Linked DNA regions of Homo sapiens: regions 1, 2 and 3 are each linked to region 4. The links are contacts of gene promoters, found by promoter capture Hi-C in human tissues and cell types (Jung and others, 2019). All regions are on one chromosome and are shown on one strand. Each heading gives the region's core, a stretch centred on a gene start or on the middle of the fragment in contact. The rest is flanking DNA. Distances are from core to core; before and after follow the strand shown. Region 1 overlaps POLN (DNA polymerase nu). Region 2 overlaps POLN (DNA polymerase nu). Region 3 overlaps LOC124900839. Region 4 holds the start of HAUS3 (HAUS augmin like complex subunit 3).

The links. The method cuts DNA at HindIII sites, captures the fragments that hold promoters and counts their contacts. A contact is called where the count stands out against the background at its distance.
Region 1: a fragment that was not itself captured here is called in contact with the fragment with the promoter of HAUS3 in region 4 in 2 of the 25 tissues and cell types used here (hippocampus and mesenchymal stem cells).
Region 2: a fragment that was not itself captured here is called in contact with the fragment with the promoter of HAUS3 in region 4 in 1 of the 25 tissues and cell types used here (dorsolateral prefrontal cortex).
Region 3: a contact is called between a fragment that was not itself captured here and the fragment with the promoter of HAUS3 in region 4, in 4 of the 25 tissues and cell types used here (IMR-90 fibroblasts, hippocampus, lymphoblastoid cells and 1 more).

The regions. Positions count from the first base shown.
Region 1 is chr4:2,093,446-2,096,831 of GRCh38, reverse strand. It overlaps POLN (DNA polymerase nu), which reads left to right. Exons shown (of 26, transcript NM_181808.4): 20 at 899-981. Among named protein-coding and RNA genes, the nearest start is that of NAT8L, 36 kb to the right of the region's middle. RefSeq lists an enhancer at 3,046-3,386. The HindIII fragment of the contact is 8,327 bases long and covers 1-3,386 here.
Region 2 is chr4:2,076,868-2,079,784 of GRCh38, reverse strand. All of the region lies in intron 23 of POLN (DNA polymerase nu), which reads left to right. Among named protein-coding and RNA genes, the nearest start is that of NAT8L, 19 kb to the right of the region's middle. The HindIII fragment of the contact is 4,114 bases long and covers 1-2,917 here.
Region 3 is chr4:2,031,828-2,035,029 of GRCh38, reverse strand. The region is part of intron 1 of LOC124900839; the gene reads left to right. Among named protein-coding and RNA genes, the nearest start is that of NICOL1, 8.6 kb to the left of the region's middle. The HindIII fragment of the contact is 6,531 bases long and covers 1-3,202 here.
Region 4 is chr4:2,240,790-2,243,777 of GRCh38, reverse strand. HAUS3 (HAUS augmin like complex subunit 3) reads left to right here and starts at 1,657. Exons shown (of 6, transcript NM_001303143.2): 1 at 1,657-1,727; 2 at 1,988-2,258; 3 at 2,685-2,988. The coding sequence starts at 2,832. POLN (DNA polymerase nu) reads left to right here and starts at 1,657. Exons shown (of 26, transcript NM_181808.4): 1 at 1,657-1,727; 2 at 1,988-2,258. It also overlaps the pseudogene COX6B1P5. RefSeq lists a silencer at 1,227-1,586 and enhancers at 2,267-2,366, 1,973-2,474. The HindIII fragment of the contact is 17,295 bases long and covers 1-2,988 here.

The DNA of each region.
Region 1 (3,386 bases), core at 645-3,144, 150 kb after region 4:
TGAAAAGCCTGGCTAAGCAATGAAGGAGGCCCCAGCACAAAGCCATCCACAAAACAGATTGGGAGAAGTTTCTGTTACTTTTTCTGTTTCTCTCTGTGTGTCTCTCTCTCTCTCTCTCTCTCTCTCTCTCTCTCTCTCTCTCTCTTTCTCTCGGCTTCTGAATCTGAGATGCCCACTCCATCAGGGAGGCCTGGTGTAGATGATAAGGATGTTTACAAAAGCAGCAGGCAGGAGGTGGCACCGAGGGTACATGTCAGGCTGCCTGTCCTTTGAAGGTGCTCTCGGAGGAGGAGGGACTCTTGGTGGTGCTGGGAGTGCTCTGGAGCTCCTGTGCTACTCAGATGTCTCAGCTTTAATCTCTGGAGATTGCTGTGGTTCACATGCCAGTCAGATGCTGAGTTGATCCTTATTCTATCTGAATGCTGTAGCTCCAGGGTGGGGCTCACCCCCATGGCCTCTGTCTGTGGGAGGCCAGGACAGAGTTGTTCATCCAGTCAAGCAGTGGGACTAGATAGGCCTAGAAACCAGCTCCCCCACTGCAGCAGACACAGACGTGGCCCAGGCCCAGGCACCCCAATATGGGGAACGGCCTTTCCTGAAGTTGGATGGGCATGCCTTTGGTGAAAGCAGTTTTGGGTTTTGATTTGTGGACACCTGGGAACGTGGGGTGGTGCTTGGCTGGCAGCAGCTGCTGCAGCCTCGCCGAAGGCATCTGCCTGGGGCCCTTGCTGAGCTGACACCACAGGTATGGAATGTCTCCCCTGCCAGTGTGCCGGCCACCATGAAAGCATAAGGAATTTCCAGAGGAAGCACAGTGGTGGGGTGTGTGGTTGGACTGTCTGCCCTGCACTGACAGTGCCTTCTGTGCCTGAACTTCACACATGGTCTCTCCATGCAGGAAGGATGTGCCCGTGGAACAGGTGACACACGCAGACAGAGAGCAAACCAAGAAGGTGGTGTACGCGGTGGTCTATGGAGCAGGTAGGCTGCGGGCCGGGAGCTGGGGTCTCGGGGTTACCTGTAAGCTGGCAGCTGTGTGCCTGTGTTTAAATGTGGCTGTGCCTCAGAAATCGTCTGTGAGTCCCTGGGTGTTGTTTATGCTCTGATGACACCTGCAGTCACCAGACACTGGCCAGACCACCCCATGCCTTGACCTGCTCAGAGTCACATCCAGCCTCTCAGGGGAGGCCGCGGAGCTGGGCAGGTCAAGTGTGACCAAGCCGTTGGCTCCACCCCTACACCATACCACTGTGCTAGGCACCACTGCTGTGCTTGGAGACCTTCGAGGAGACCCTCGTCCACACACATGCCAAGGCATTATAAAGTTAGATAGCCTCAAGGTGTGCAGCGCTTGGACTCATTGCCACATCTCAACATGCACCCCATCTCCCTAGGGCAGAGCTCACCCAGCTGGGCCATGCAGCCAAAGCACCCCAGAGAGGGCAGAGCCAGGCCTTGGGCTGGGAGCAGAGCAGTAGGGGTCCAATCTCAGGGGTAGCAGATAGGAGAAAGCGGGGCTAGGCCAGGAAGGACTGAAGGCCAGAGGTTTGGGCTGCCTGGGGCCTCTTCTGCAAGCCTCTCCCTCCCCTCCCCTTTTTGCTTCCCTTCCTGTTTCTGCTCCTCTCCCTCCTTCCCCCTACCCCCTAGCCCCAATACCCATGTCAGAGCAGGCCTTCTACTCTCTTCCACTCACCCTTCTTCTACTCTCCCTTGGACTCCCTGACATGGGCTGTCTGGGATTTTTTAATTCTTTTCTGGCCCTGGGTCATGCTGAATCAGCATGGCCTAGTTTCCCCAGCCAGCCAGCTCCTTCTTAAGCCTGTTCAGACCTCCTTTTCCCTGTGATCAGTTCTTCTTTGGGTAGCAGGGCTTGTGCAAAGACCCTGAAAAGAAGATTCACCATCCTGCCATGGAAACCCTTTGTTTATTCACAGAAAGGCAGCAAAACCAAACAAGCTTCAGTGGAAGAATAACGGGGCAAGCACATAGTAGATTGTCCCTAAGAGCTGCCCTACAGTCTCCATTGAGAATGTGGTGCCGTTGAACAAGCGTCCAGAGTGCCCCGCCCCAAAACTGTGGATGGATAGCTTGTCTAGAACCACAGCCAATCAGCCAGGCCAGCTCCAACCTCAGAGCTTTGCACTACTCTTCCCTCTATGGGAACACCTGCCCCTGTACCACCAGAACCCATCCCTCACTTCTGCAGACCTGTGCTCAACTCTCCCCTGTGCAACCTTCCTCAACCACAGTATTTGTTACCCATTTCTTAGGTAACAAATTGCCACAAATGTAGTAACTTAAAATAATACACACTATCTCACAGTTTCTCTGGGTGTGGGCATGCCATAGCTGGGTCCCCTGCAGGGGCTGCAGTCAGGGTGTTGGCTGGGGCTGTGATCACATCTGTGGCTTGACTGGGGAAGGATCCACTTTGTTGGCTTCTGTTTCTTTCTTTCTTTTTTTTTTTTGGAGACAGAACCTTGCTCTATCCCCCAGGCTGGAATGCAGTGGCACAATCTCGGCTCACTGCATTGAGCACAAAATTGGCTCAACCTCCAACTCCTGGGCTCAAGCCTCCTGCCTCAGCCTCCTGAGTAGCTGGGGTGACAGGCACCTGCCACCACATTCGGCTAATTTTTGTATTTTTAGTAGAGATGGGGTTTCACCATGTTGGCCAGGCTGGTCTTGAACTCCTGACCTCAAGTGATCTGCCCATCTTGGCCTCCCAAAGTGCTGGGATTACAGGCATGAGCCACCGCACCTGGCTGGCTTCTGTTTCTTGCTGGCTGTCAGCCGGAGGTGGTCTCAGCTCCTTGCCACATGGGCCTCACACCTTGGGCACCCACTCGCCTGTTCATGGTCTCATGCCCCAGCTCAAACATGAGTACCTCAAAGATAGGAGCTCATCACGTTAGCTCACTGCCTGGCACAGAGAAGACACAGGAACAAATTAGTGGACTTGGTGGTCTCAGCTCCACTTTTGAAAACATTTTGATTGTATACATGGTTTTTGGAAAATAGACTAAGAAACTTTGTTTTAAAGAACTAGGTTCTGTGAGTGACAGTAGTGTGACATTGGATTGATTCTCCTCAGAGTTGCTTGGTCCACTGCCTCCTCTCAGCCTCTTCTGTGCTGCACCCCTGAACCTCCCTGGGGCCTCTGTCTTGGGGGAAGGCATCACTCTGCCAAATTATATGAGAGTTTGTTGCCTTGCATCCTGCTGCATCTTGTGTTGCAAACATAACATTTGCTTCTGCTCTGCCGGCAGGACATCACCTCCCCAGTCCTGGGCCCGGCAGCCTGGGCTTGATCCCCAACCCTATCAGCTCCTGACTGTGTGGCCTTGTGCAAGGCCCTCCGCCTCCCTGTGCCATCTCCTCCTGGG
Region 2 (2,917 bases), core at 349-2,848, 160 kb after region 4:
GGTAAAACATCGTCACTACTAAAAATACAAAAATTAGCCAGGTGTGGTGGCGCACACCTGTAATCCCAGCTACTCAGGAGGCTGAGGCAGGAGGATCGCTTGAACCCAGGAGGTGGAGGTTGCAGTGTGCCAAGATCGCACCACTGCACTCCAGCCTGGGTGAGAGCAAGACTCTGTCTAACAGAAAAAAAAATAAGATTCACTCTCAGTCCTCTCCTGCCCCATCTCACTGCCATCTGCATTCATTCCCAACACACACGTGCACACACACGCACACACAAGCACATGCACCCATACACGTGTTCACCCATGCATACAACCCATGCACACACATATACGCATATACACTGATGCCAGGCAGCCTCTAGTGCCCCACAGTGTTCTCATGGTGTCCTGAAATCCATGCATCCCGCTCACTTCCACAGTTTCTGCAGGTAAATTATAGCTTCTCCCAGGATATGAGCAGCTTGTGCTAGTTTCCGTCTTGGCAGGAACTGAAAGCCAAATGGTGGTCCTGCCTCTAAGATACTGCAAGTCTAGAAAAGTTGATTCAAGGCTGGGCGCAGTGGCTCACACCTGTAATCCCAGCATTTGGGAGGCCGAGTCGGGTGGATCACTTGAGCTCAGAAGTTTGTGAACAACATATGTGTTGCCTGGGCAACATAATGAAACCTGTCTCTACAAAATAAAAGCTGGCCATGGTGGTGCACACCTGTAGTCCCAGCTACTCAGGAGGCTGAAGTGGGAGGATCACCTGAGCCTGGGAGTTCAAGGCTGCAGTGAGCCATGATCATACCACTGCACTCCAGCCTGGGCAACAGGGCAAGAACCTGCCTCAAAAAAAGAAAAAATCGGTTCACTTTCAGCCCTTGTGGAATTGATAAAGGAAGTTGGCATGTGAGGAGCTGAGGTCTCTCTCTGTTGCTGACTGAGTCCTTCTGAAAGCTGGACACAGACACTTTTACTCAGGAACGCAGTTACTCGCTGGTCATCCTTCTGTCATCAGCCATTGGCTGTCACGAGGAAATGCTTCTCATAGCAAAATGCAAAGCAGACTCGTGTGGAATATTGGGCACATGGTCTGTGTTTTGTGAACGTGATTTGTTCTTCCAGGAGTAATGTGAAAGGCTGTGGATGGCGTCTGGAAGGGACGGGTGCAGGCTCAGTGTGGCCAGGCATCTCTCGCTGAAGCAGCAGGCATGAAACTCGATCACTGGGAGGCACACGGTGCCCCTAGAGTGAGCTGAGATCGCACCACTTCACTCCAGCCTGGGCGAGAGCGAGAGTCTGTCTAACAAAAAAAAAAAAAAAGAAGAAGAAGATTCATCTGGCCACCCCAAGGGTCTGCCCAGGTGGGCTGGGGCCACAGGACAGTCTGCATTCACCACCCACAGTCCCTGTGACAGGGAAATGGCATTCGTTTGTGCCTCTTGGTCCAGATCCTAAAAAGACCAGAGAGGTTGGGCTCAGAGCAGGAGGCCGGTGGCCAGCGTTCACAGGCCTCTGTGCCATGGCTCGGCTGTCCTGTCTGTCTCTTCTGGTGCAGGCCCTTTATGAAAAGGCCTTCCTGGGTTTCAGAACGTGTCAGTGCTGTGACGGTCCCTCCCCTGGGCCTTCTCAAGGCGGGTCTGCATGAGGCCACCATGCGCCCACACTCAGGATGAGTCCACAGAGCAGTTCAGCAGGGCTGGGGGCATCCCTTGCAAGGGAGCTGCCCCTGCAGGCCCCAGACAGGCAACACGGTGAGGCTCTTCTGGAACATTCTCCTACTGGTGCAGTGATCTCAGTCAGGCCATCCAGATGCAGAACACAGCAGCTCTGTGGCCGACCCCTCTCAGGAACAGGGATGAGAAGTTGCACCAGAGGTCCACTCCCTTCCGGAACACAACAGGATCCAAGGCCCTGCATTCATCCACCCCACACGGAGACGACAGACGTCCTTCTTCTTTCACCTGTGCCCCATTTCCCAGTTAGAAGCGCGGTCATGTCTCAGTGGCTGCGAGAATGATGTGTGAGTGACTGACAACTGCACCTATTCTTAGGTTCCTGCCACACCAGCAGCTCAGAATTTCACAATGTAATTTCAAGAAGTGTGAAAACTGCTTCTGCTAAATCTGGAAAAAGTTACAAGTGCCTTTTCTGAGGTTTCTGCCCATTTGAAAAGTAAGTCCTCTTGGGAGACAAAGACTTCTGCCTGAGGCCTTGAAGTTAGTTGAAGACAAGCTTGCTGGTGCTGACAGCCTGGGGCTCTGTCGCCCCTCTGACTTCTGGAAGGGCAGTGCCCACGGCCCCTGGCCAGAGGCTGCACATGAAGCACAGGCCCACCTCCCCCTCCCTGGGGGCAGCCTGCTCGAGGGTGTGAGCACCAGTGTACCGCTGTCTGGGCCCACGTAGTGTCCTGTGGATGTACACCCAGGAGGGTGTGCACTTGGCCGTCAGGAACACAGGCCCAAGCTACAGCAGCTCAGACTCCAGAAGGCAGACTTTTCTCCCATCACGAGAAGTCCAGAGAACAGTGGTTGCTTTGTTTCAGAGGCTCAGAGCAGCAGGACCGAAGTCCCTCTGGCTCCCTGGCCATTCCCTCCTGGTGCTGTGATGGAGGTGGCTGCTCCAGCCCTCACACCTTGCAGGCAAAGGAGAAAGTCATAGTGGTCAGAAGAGCATCTGCCCCTGGCAGCCCTTTACAGTCAGCCGTTTAAAGAGCCTTCCCTTTTAGGACTTTCCTGGAGTCTCTTTTCCTTCCCACTCCTTACCTCCCTCCCTGCTAAGGAAAAAAAAAATAGCCTCCTTGGAAGTTGAAGGGAATGCAGTCCTGGGCCACCCTGCCTGAGAGAGAGCCTGGGAAATGTCCTTTGTAGCTGAGGACACAGCCCCACCTCCACCCCACCCAGCAACAAAGGGGCCAACATGAAGAAAG
Region 3 (3,202 bases), core at 272-2,771, 210 kb after region 4:
TCAGACCCTTCTGCATGACACCCCAGATGTTACCCTTAAAGTATGTCGAGTTTTAAACTCTTCTCCCTTGTTGCTGGACTTCGTGTCCCAGGAAACAGATCCCCAACTCATTCACTCCTGTGTGGAAACCATAGAACAGACCTCCTCTAGCAGGCCTGACCTCAAAGATGAGCCCTTGAGCCCCTGCATAACCCCGATGTTGAGTGGCTCAGAGATGAAAGTGGTTTTATTCATAAGGGAGAAAGAAAGATCGGTTATGCAGTAGTTAGCCGAGAAGAAGGCATTGAGGCCAAAGCTTGACCTCCCCAGACATCTGCTCAAAAAGTGGAATTAATTGGTCTAATCAGGGTCCTCCAACTGAGAAAAGACTTAAGAGTCAACATATTTACCGATTCCAAATATGGGTGCCTGGTGCTCCACGCTCATGACGCCATATGGAAAGAAAAGGGAGCGCTAACAGCTAAGGAATCCCCCACACAGCATTGCTCTGAGATCTTGGAATTGTAGATGCTGTCCAGCTCCCAAAGGAGGTGGCAGTTACTCACTGCAGGGGACACCAAAAGGGGGACACCTCTATCATCCCGGAGGAAATGCCCTGATGGACAGGACAGCCAAGGCCACAGGTGAAGAACACCAGTGCTCCAGGCCACGGACTAATGCCAGGTACTGCACCCATGCCAGCAGCACCCTACTGTACTCCTGAGGAAAGTAAATGGGCAGAACAGATGGGCTTACAAGGCCAGGCGTGGTGGCTCACACTTGTAATCCCAGCACTTTGGGAGGCTGAGGTGGGTGGATCATGAGTTCAGGAGTTCGAGACCAGCCTAGCTAACACAGTAAAACCCTATCTCTACTAAAAATAGAAAAAAAAATTAGCCAGGTGTGGTGATGCATGCCTGTAATCCTGGATACTCGAGAGGCTGAGGGAGGAGAGTCATTTGAACCTGGGAGGCAGTTTTCCCTGGCCAGTGCTAGGGAGATTGTGAGGTTTGGACTGGGCAGAATTCCCCACAGCGCAGCACAGCAGCTGTGGCAGATTGTGGCCAGACTGCCTCTTTAACTGGGAACCAGACCCATCCCTTCTCACCCGAGCAGTGCCTCCCTGCAGGAGTTCCAGCAACTCCAGCCAGGGGTTTACGGACAGAACTTTCATCTCCCCAGGTCAGAGCACCTGGGGAGAGTGGTGGCCGCAGTCTCAGGTTGGACAGACTTAATCTTTCCTGCTTGCTGGCTCCCAAGAGTCCCAGTGACCTGGATGAGGGGGCATTCCCCCCAGCGCAGTGCACCCACACTGGTAAGGGGCAGCCAGACTGCTTCCTTAAGCAGGTCCCTGATCACATGCCTCCTGACTGGGTGAGACCTCCCAACAGGGGCCACCAGACACTTCATTCAGGAGAGCTGCAGCTGGCATCAGGTCGGTGCCCCTCTGAGACAAAGCTTCCAGAGGAAGGAGCAGGCAGCAATCTTTGCTGTTCTGCAGCCTTCACTGGTGATACCCAGGCAAACAGGGTATGGAGTGGACCTCCAGCAAATTGCAGCCGACCTGCAGAAGAGGGGCCTGACTGTTAAAAGAAAAACAGCCAGGCGCAGTGGCTCACGCCTGTAATCCCAGCACTTTGGGAGGCTGAGGAGGGTGGATCACAAGGTCAGGAGTTCGAGACCAGCCTGGCCAATATGGTGAAACCCTGTCTCTACTAAAAATACAAAAATTAGCCAGGCGTGGTGGTGGGCGCCTGTAGTTCCAGCTACTTGGGAGGCTGCAGGAGAATCGCTTGAACCTGGAAGGTGGATGTTGCAGTGAGGGAGCCAAGATCGCGCCACTGCACTCCAGCCTGGGTGACAGAGCGAGACTCCATCTCAAAAAAAACGAAAAAAAAGAAAATAAAAGAAAAACAAACAGAAAGCAACAACAACAACATCAACAAAAAAGACCCCACAAAAACCCCATCTAAAGGTCAACAGCCTCAAAGAGGAAAGGTAGATAAATCCACAATGAGGAAAAACCAACGCAAAAATGCTGAAAATTCCAAAAGCCAGAATGCCTCTTCTCCTTCAAATGATCAAAACACCTCTCCGGCAAGGGCACAGGAGTGGGCTGAAGCTGAGATGGATGAACTGACAGAAGTACGCTTCAGAAAGTGGGTAATAATATACTTCACTGAGCTAAAGGATTATGTTTTAACCCAATGCAAAGAAGCTAAGAACCACGATAAAACATTACAGATGGTGTTAACTGGAATAACCAGTTTAGAGAGAAACATAAATGACCCGACGGAGCTGAAAAATACAGCACAAGAACTTCATGATGCAAACACAAGTATCAACAGCCAAATCAACCAAACAGAAGAAAGAATATCAGAGCTTGAAGACTGTCTTGCTGAAATAAGGCAGGCAGACAAGATTAGAGAAAAAATAATGAAAAGGAATGAACAAAACCTCCGAGAACTATTGGACTATGTAAAAAGATTGAACCTACAACTGATTGGAGTACCTGAAAGAGACGGGGAGAATGGAGCCAAGTTGGAAAACACACTTCAGGTTATCCTCCAGGAGAACTTCCCCAACTTAGCAGGACAGGCCAACGTTCAAATCCAGGAAATCCAGAGAACTCCAATAAGATACTCCATGAGAAGGTCAACCCTAAGGCACATAATCATCAGATTCTCTAAGGTTAAAATGAAGTAAAAAATGTTAAGGGCAGCCAGAGAGAAAGGCCAGGTCACCTACAAAGGGAAGCCCATCAGACTAACAGTGGACATCTCAGTGGAAACCCTACAAGCCAGAAGAGATTGGGGGCCAATATTCAACATTCTTTTTTTTTTTTTTTTTGAGACGGAGTCTTGCTCTGTCGCCTGGCTGGAGTGCAGTGGCGCAATCTCAGCTCACTACAAGCCTCTCAAGTAGCTGAGATTATAGGCACATGCCACCACGGCCGGATAATTTTTTGTATTTTAGTAGAGATGGGGTTTCACCATGTTGGCCAAGATGATCTTGATCTCCTGACCTCGTGATCCACCCACCATGGCCTCCCAAAGTGCTGTGAGCCACCGCGCCTGGCCAATATTCAACGTTCTTAAAGAATTTCCAGGCCAGGTGCAGTAGCTCACACCTGTAATCCCAGCACTTTGGGAGGCCAAGGTGGGTGGATCACAAGGTCAGGAGTTCAAGAACAGCATGGCCAACATGGTGAAACCCTGTCTCT
Region 4 (2,988 bases), core at 408-2,907:
GCCCCCTGATGCACACCCCCAACCTCCAACCCTGGGCTGCAAGGGTCCTCCCACCAGGCCTCCCCGTTCCAGCATCCCTGGTTTCCTTGCCTGCAGATTGGGCACCACTCTTTGAATTTTTTCCCATCATGTTTGTTTTTCAGATCATTTTAGGCCTTATTGACTTTTAAAAGAGGAGGAAAAAAACGTGAAACAAGTGAAGAATGAATAGGAAATATCTTTGACTCGATCAGATTACAATATTTGCCTTAGAACATTCTTATTTCTCTCCTTAAAAATATTAAGAAAAACTATCCAAACGACTTCTACCTAGTCACCCTGGACTAGGACATTGTCTAACAAGCCACCTTTAGGGTCATTTGACGCTGAAGGGAGGGAGTACTATTATATTTACCCATGACCAAAGCCCCTGCTAACCTGTGGAAGACTGAGGAGTGGCAAAGGATTTTTGTTTGGTAGAGATGCAAACGAATTCTGTCCAATAGAGAGGTCTGGTTTCACTGGGCTGTAGGGCATCAGCCAGATTCACATGAAATTTAGCAATCCCGTTTCAGTCATCTTTCACTGACTGCCATCCTCTTTGGAAATGGTGTACCATCCTCCTTGAGTTAAATATATCGATGTATTTAACTCAGGCCATTCCGTTTATTTCTAACATTTTGAAAAGGGAATTGTGGAGGAAGTCAGCTTTTTTTTTTTTTTTTTTTTTGAGACGGAGTCTTGCTCTGTCGCCCAGGCTAGAGTGCAGTGGCGTGATCTCGGCTCACTGCAACCTCCACCTCCTGGGTTCAAACGATTCTCCTGCCTCAGCCTCCCGAGTCGCTGGGATTACAGGCGCCCACCACCGCGCCCGGCTAATTTTTGTATTTTTTAGTAGAGATGGGGTTTCACCATCTTGGCCAGGCTGGTCTCGAACTCCTGACCTCATGATCCCCCCCCCCCCCCCCCCCGGCCTCCCAAAGTGCTGGGATTACAGGCATGAGCCACCGCGCCCGGCCAGAAGTCAGCTTTTACATAGTGTTCTGGTGAGGGATTAGAAATTAAGTGTTTTTGCAAAATAAAGTTCATTGTAAAAGACTCTAAGCGAACAATCCCTAACCCTTAAAATGTACCAGGCATTGGTCGGGCTGCTGTGAATGTTCCGGGAACTCGTCTCTCTCGGGGGCGAGCGCTATCACCGCCGGGCTCCAGCCTGTCTCCCAACCACCAACCTGCGCTGCTCTTTGTACCATTCAAAAGTGCCTTCAGAGGGTCTAGATTGAAGTACGGGGCAGGGCAGGCCTGAAGCACAACTGACGGCTCCGTTGAGAGCAGGCCCGCAGCTTCAGCTCCCCAGAGGGCGCCCCACCGCACCCCTCTGCACCCCTCTGCACCCCATTCATTGCCCAGGCTCCGCCCCCTGCCCAGGCCCCGCCCCTGTCCAGGCCCTGTCCCCGCCCTTCCCGGCCCAGACCCCGCCTCTCTCTGCCCTGCGCCCCGCCCAGGAGGCAGGATGCCCGCAGCGGCCGGGGGCCGAGCGCCGCCTGCTCAGCTCCACCCCATAGTCCAGCCTCGCCGACTCCGCCTCTTTTGACACTACGCCTGCGCAAACAGTCATCCCCCACGACCACGCCGTCGCCTTGTGCGCTTGCGCGCGTCCAGGCGCTCCCGTGAGGCAGTGCGAGGCGCGCGGGGCACGGAGGGCGGTGGCGGCGGGCTCCTGCGAGAAGCAAGCGGAACTTCCTGAGGTGACTGACGCGGGCCTCGGTTCTGGGCGCAGGGGTGTGGGGCTGGAGGAGTGGCCGCGATCCCCGTCTGCACCCAGGTGCCTCTTTTTTTTCCTGCGCTCCTGGGGGCTCCTTCCAGGTGCTCCAGCAGCTGCCCGGGGATCAGGGCCCGGTCCGCTGGGCGAGGAGCTGGGGCGGGGGCTGTGCGGGGCCTGTCACCCCCGTCTTCTGCAGCTCGGTGTCGACGGCGATTCGGTGGGCTTGTGCGTTTGTTTTGTCAGCGTGCTTAGGTGTCACAGCTGGGTGACCCTCCGAAGGAAGGTTTTGCCGCTGGCGCGTCTGGTGTATCGCGGCCTTGGGGCCGCGGATCCCTGGGGCTTGCCGCTGCCTCTGGGGTTCGCGCGGCCCTGGCGTCGGGGCTGCCTCAGCGCTGGCTGAAGGCCGGCCCGAAGCACCCTTAATTGTGGCCGCGCGCTTCCCTGCTGCTCCTGCTGTTCTCCGCGTCGCGGTGGTGGACTCTGGAGGTGGAGCCTTGCCCGGCGAGACGTTGAGGTAAATATTTAGTTGATCTTCAGAAGATGTGCCATGCTTATTTGCGTCTTCTTACGTACGGAGGGCAGGGAAGAGAGGCTGCCTAGCCTCCTGGTGGCTTGGGTTTGTTTGGATCCATTTATTTTGAATTAAAAACAAATGCTGCTCTATAAAGTGTAATGCATTTTAAACCATTTTATCTTTGGAAAAAAAGATAAAATGGATCCAAATAGATCCACTTTCTTGTTAATTACTTTTCGTTACTGTTGCGGTTTTCTGAGAACTAGCCTAATTGTTTCTGTTTCTCTTTATCATCATCAAACATTGCAGCTACGACTACCTGTCATTTATCCCGCTCTCGGATATCATGTGATATTTGTCTGTGTCTTCTTTTTAAAAACACTGTCGTCATATTTGTGGTCTAATACTTGTTTTCTTCCCCCCTAGGAGGAATCATTATAGATTCTAAAAATATATTTTCCCTTCTCTGTGGACTTGGTATAAAACGTAGCTTTTTTTCTGCTTGGATTTATTTTCTAAAAATCAACACCGTAAACCCATATCAGATACAACAAAATTGGGGTAGTTAAAACCATGAGTTGTGGAAATGAGTTTGTGGAAACATTAAAAAAAATTGGTTATCCCAAAGCTGATAATCTTAATGGAGAAGACTTTGACTGGTTGTTTGAGGGCGTTGAAGATGAATCGTTTCTGAAGTGGTTTTGTGGGAATGTGAATGAACAGAACGTGT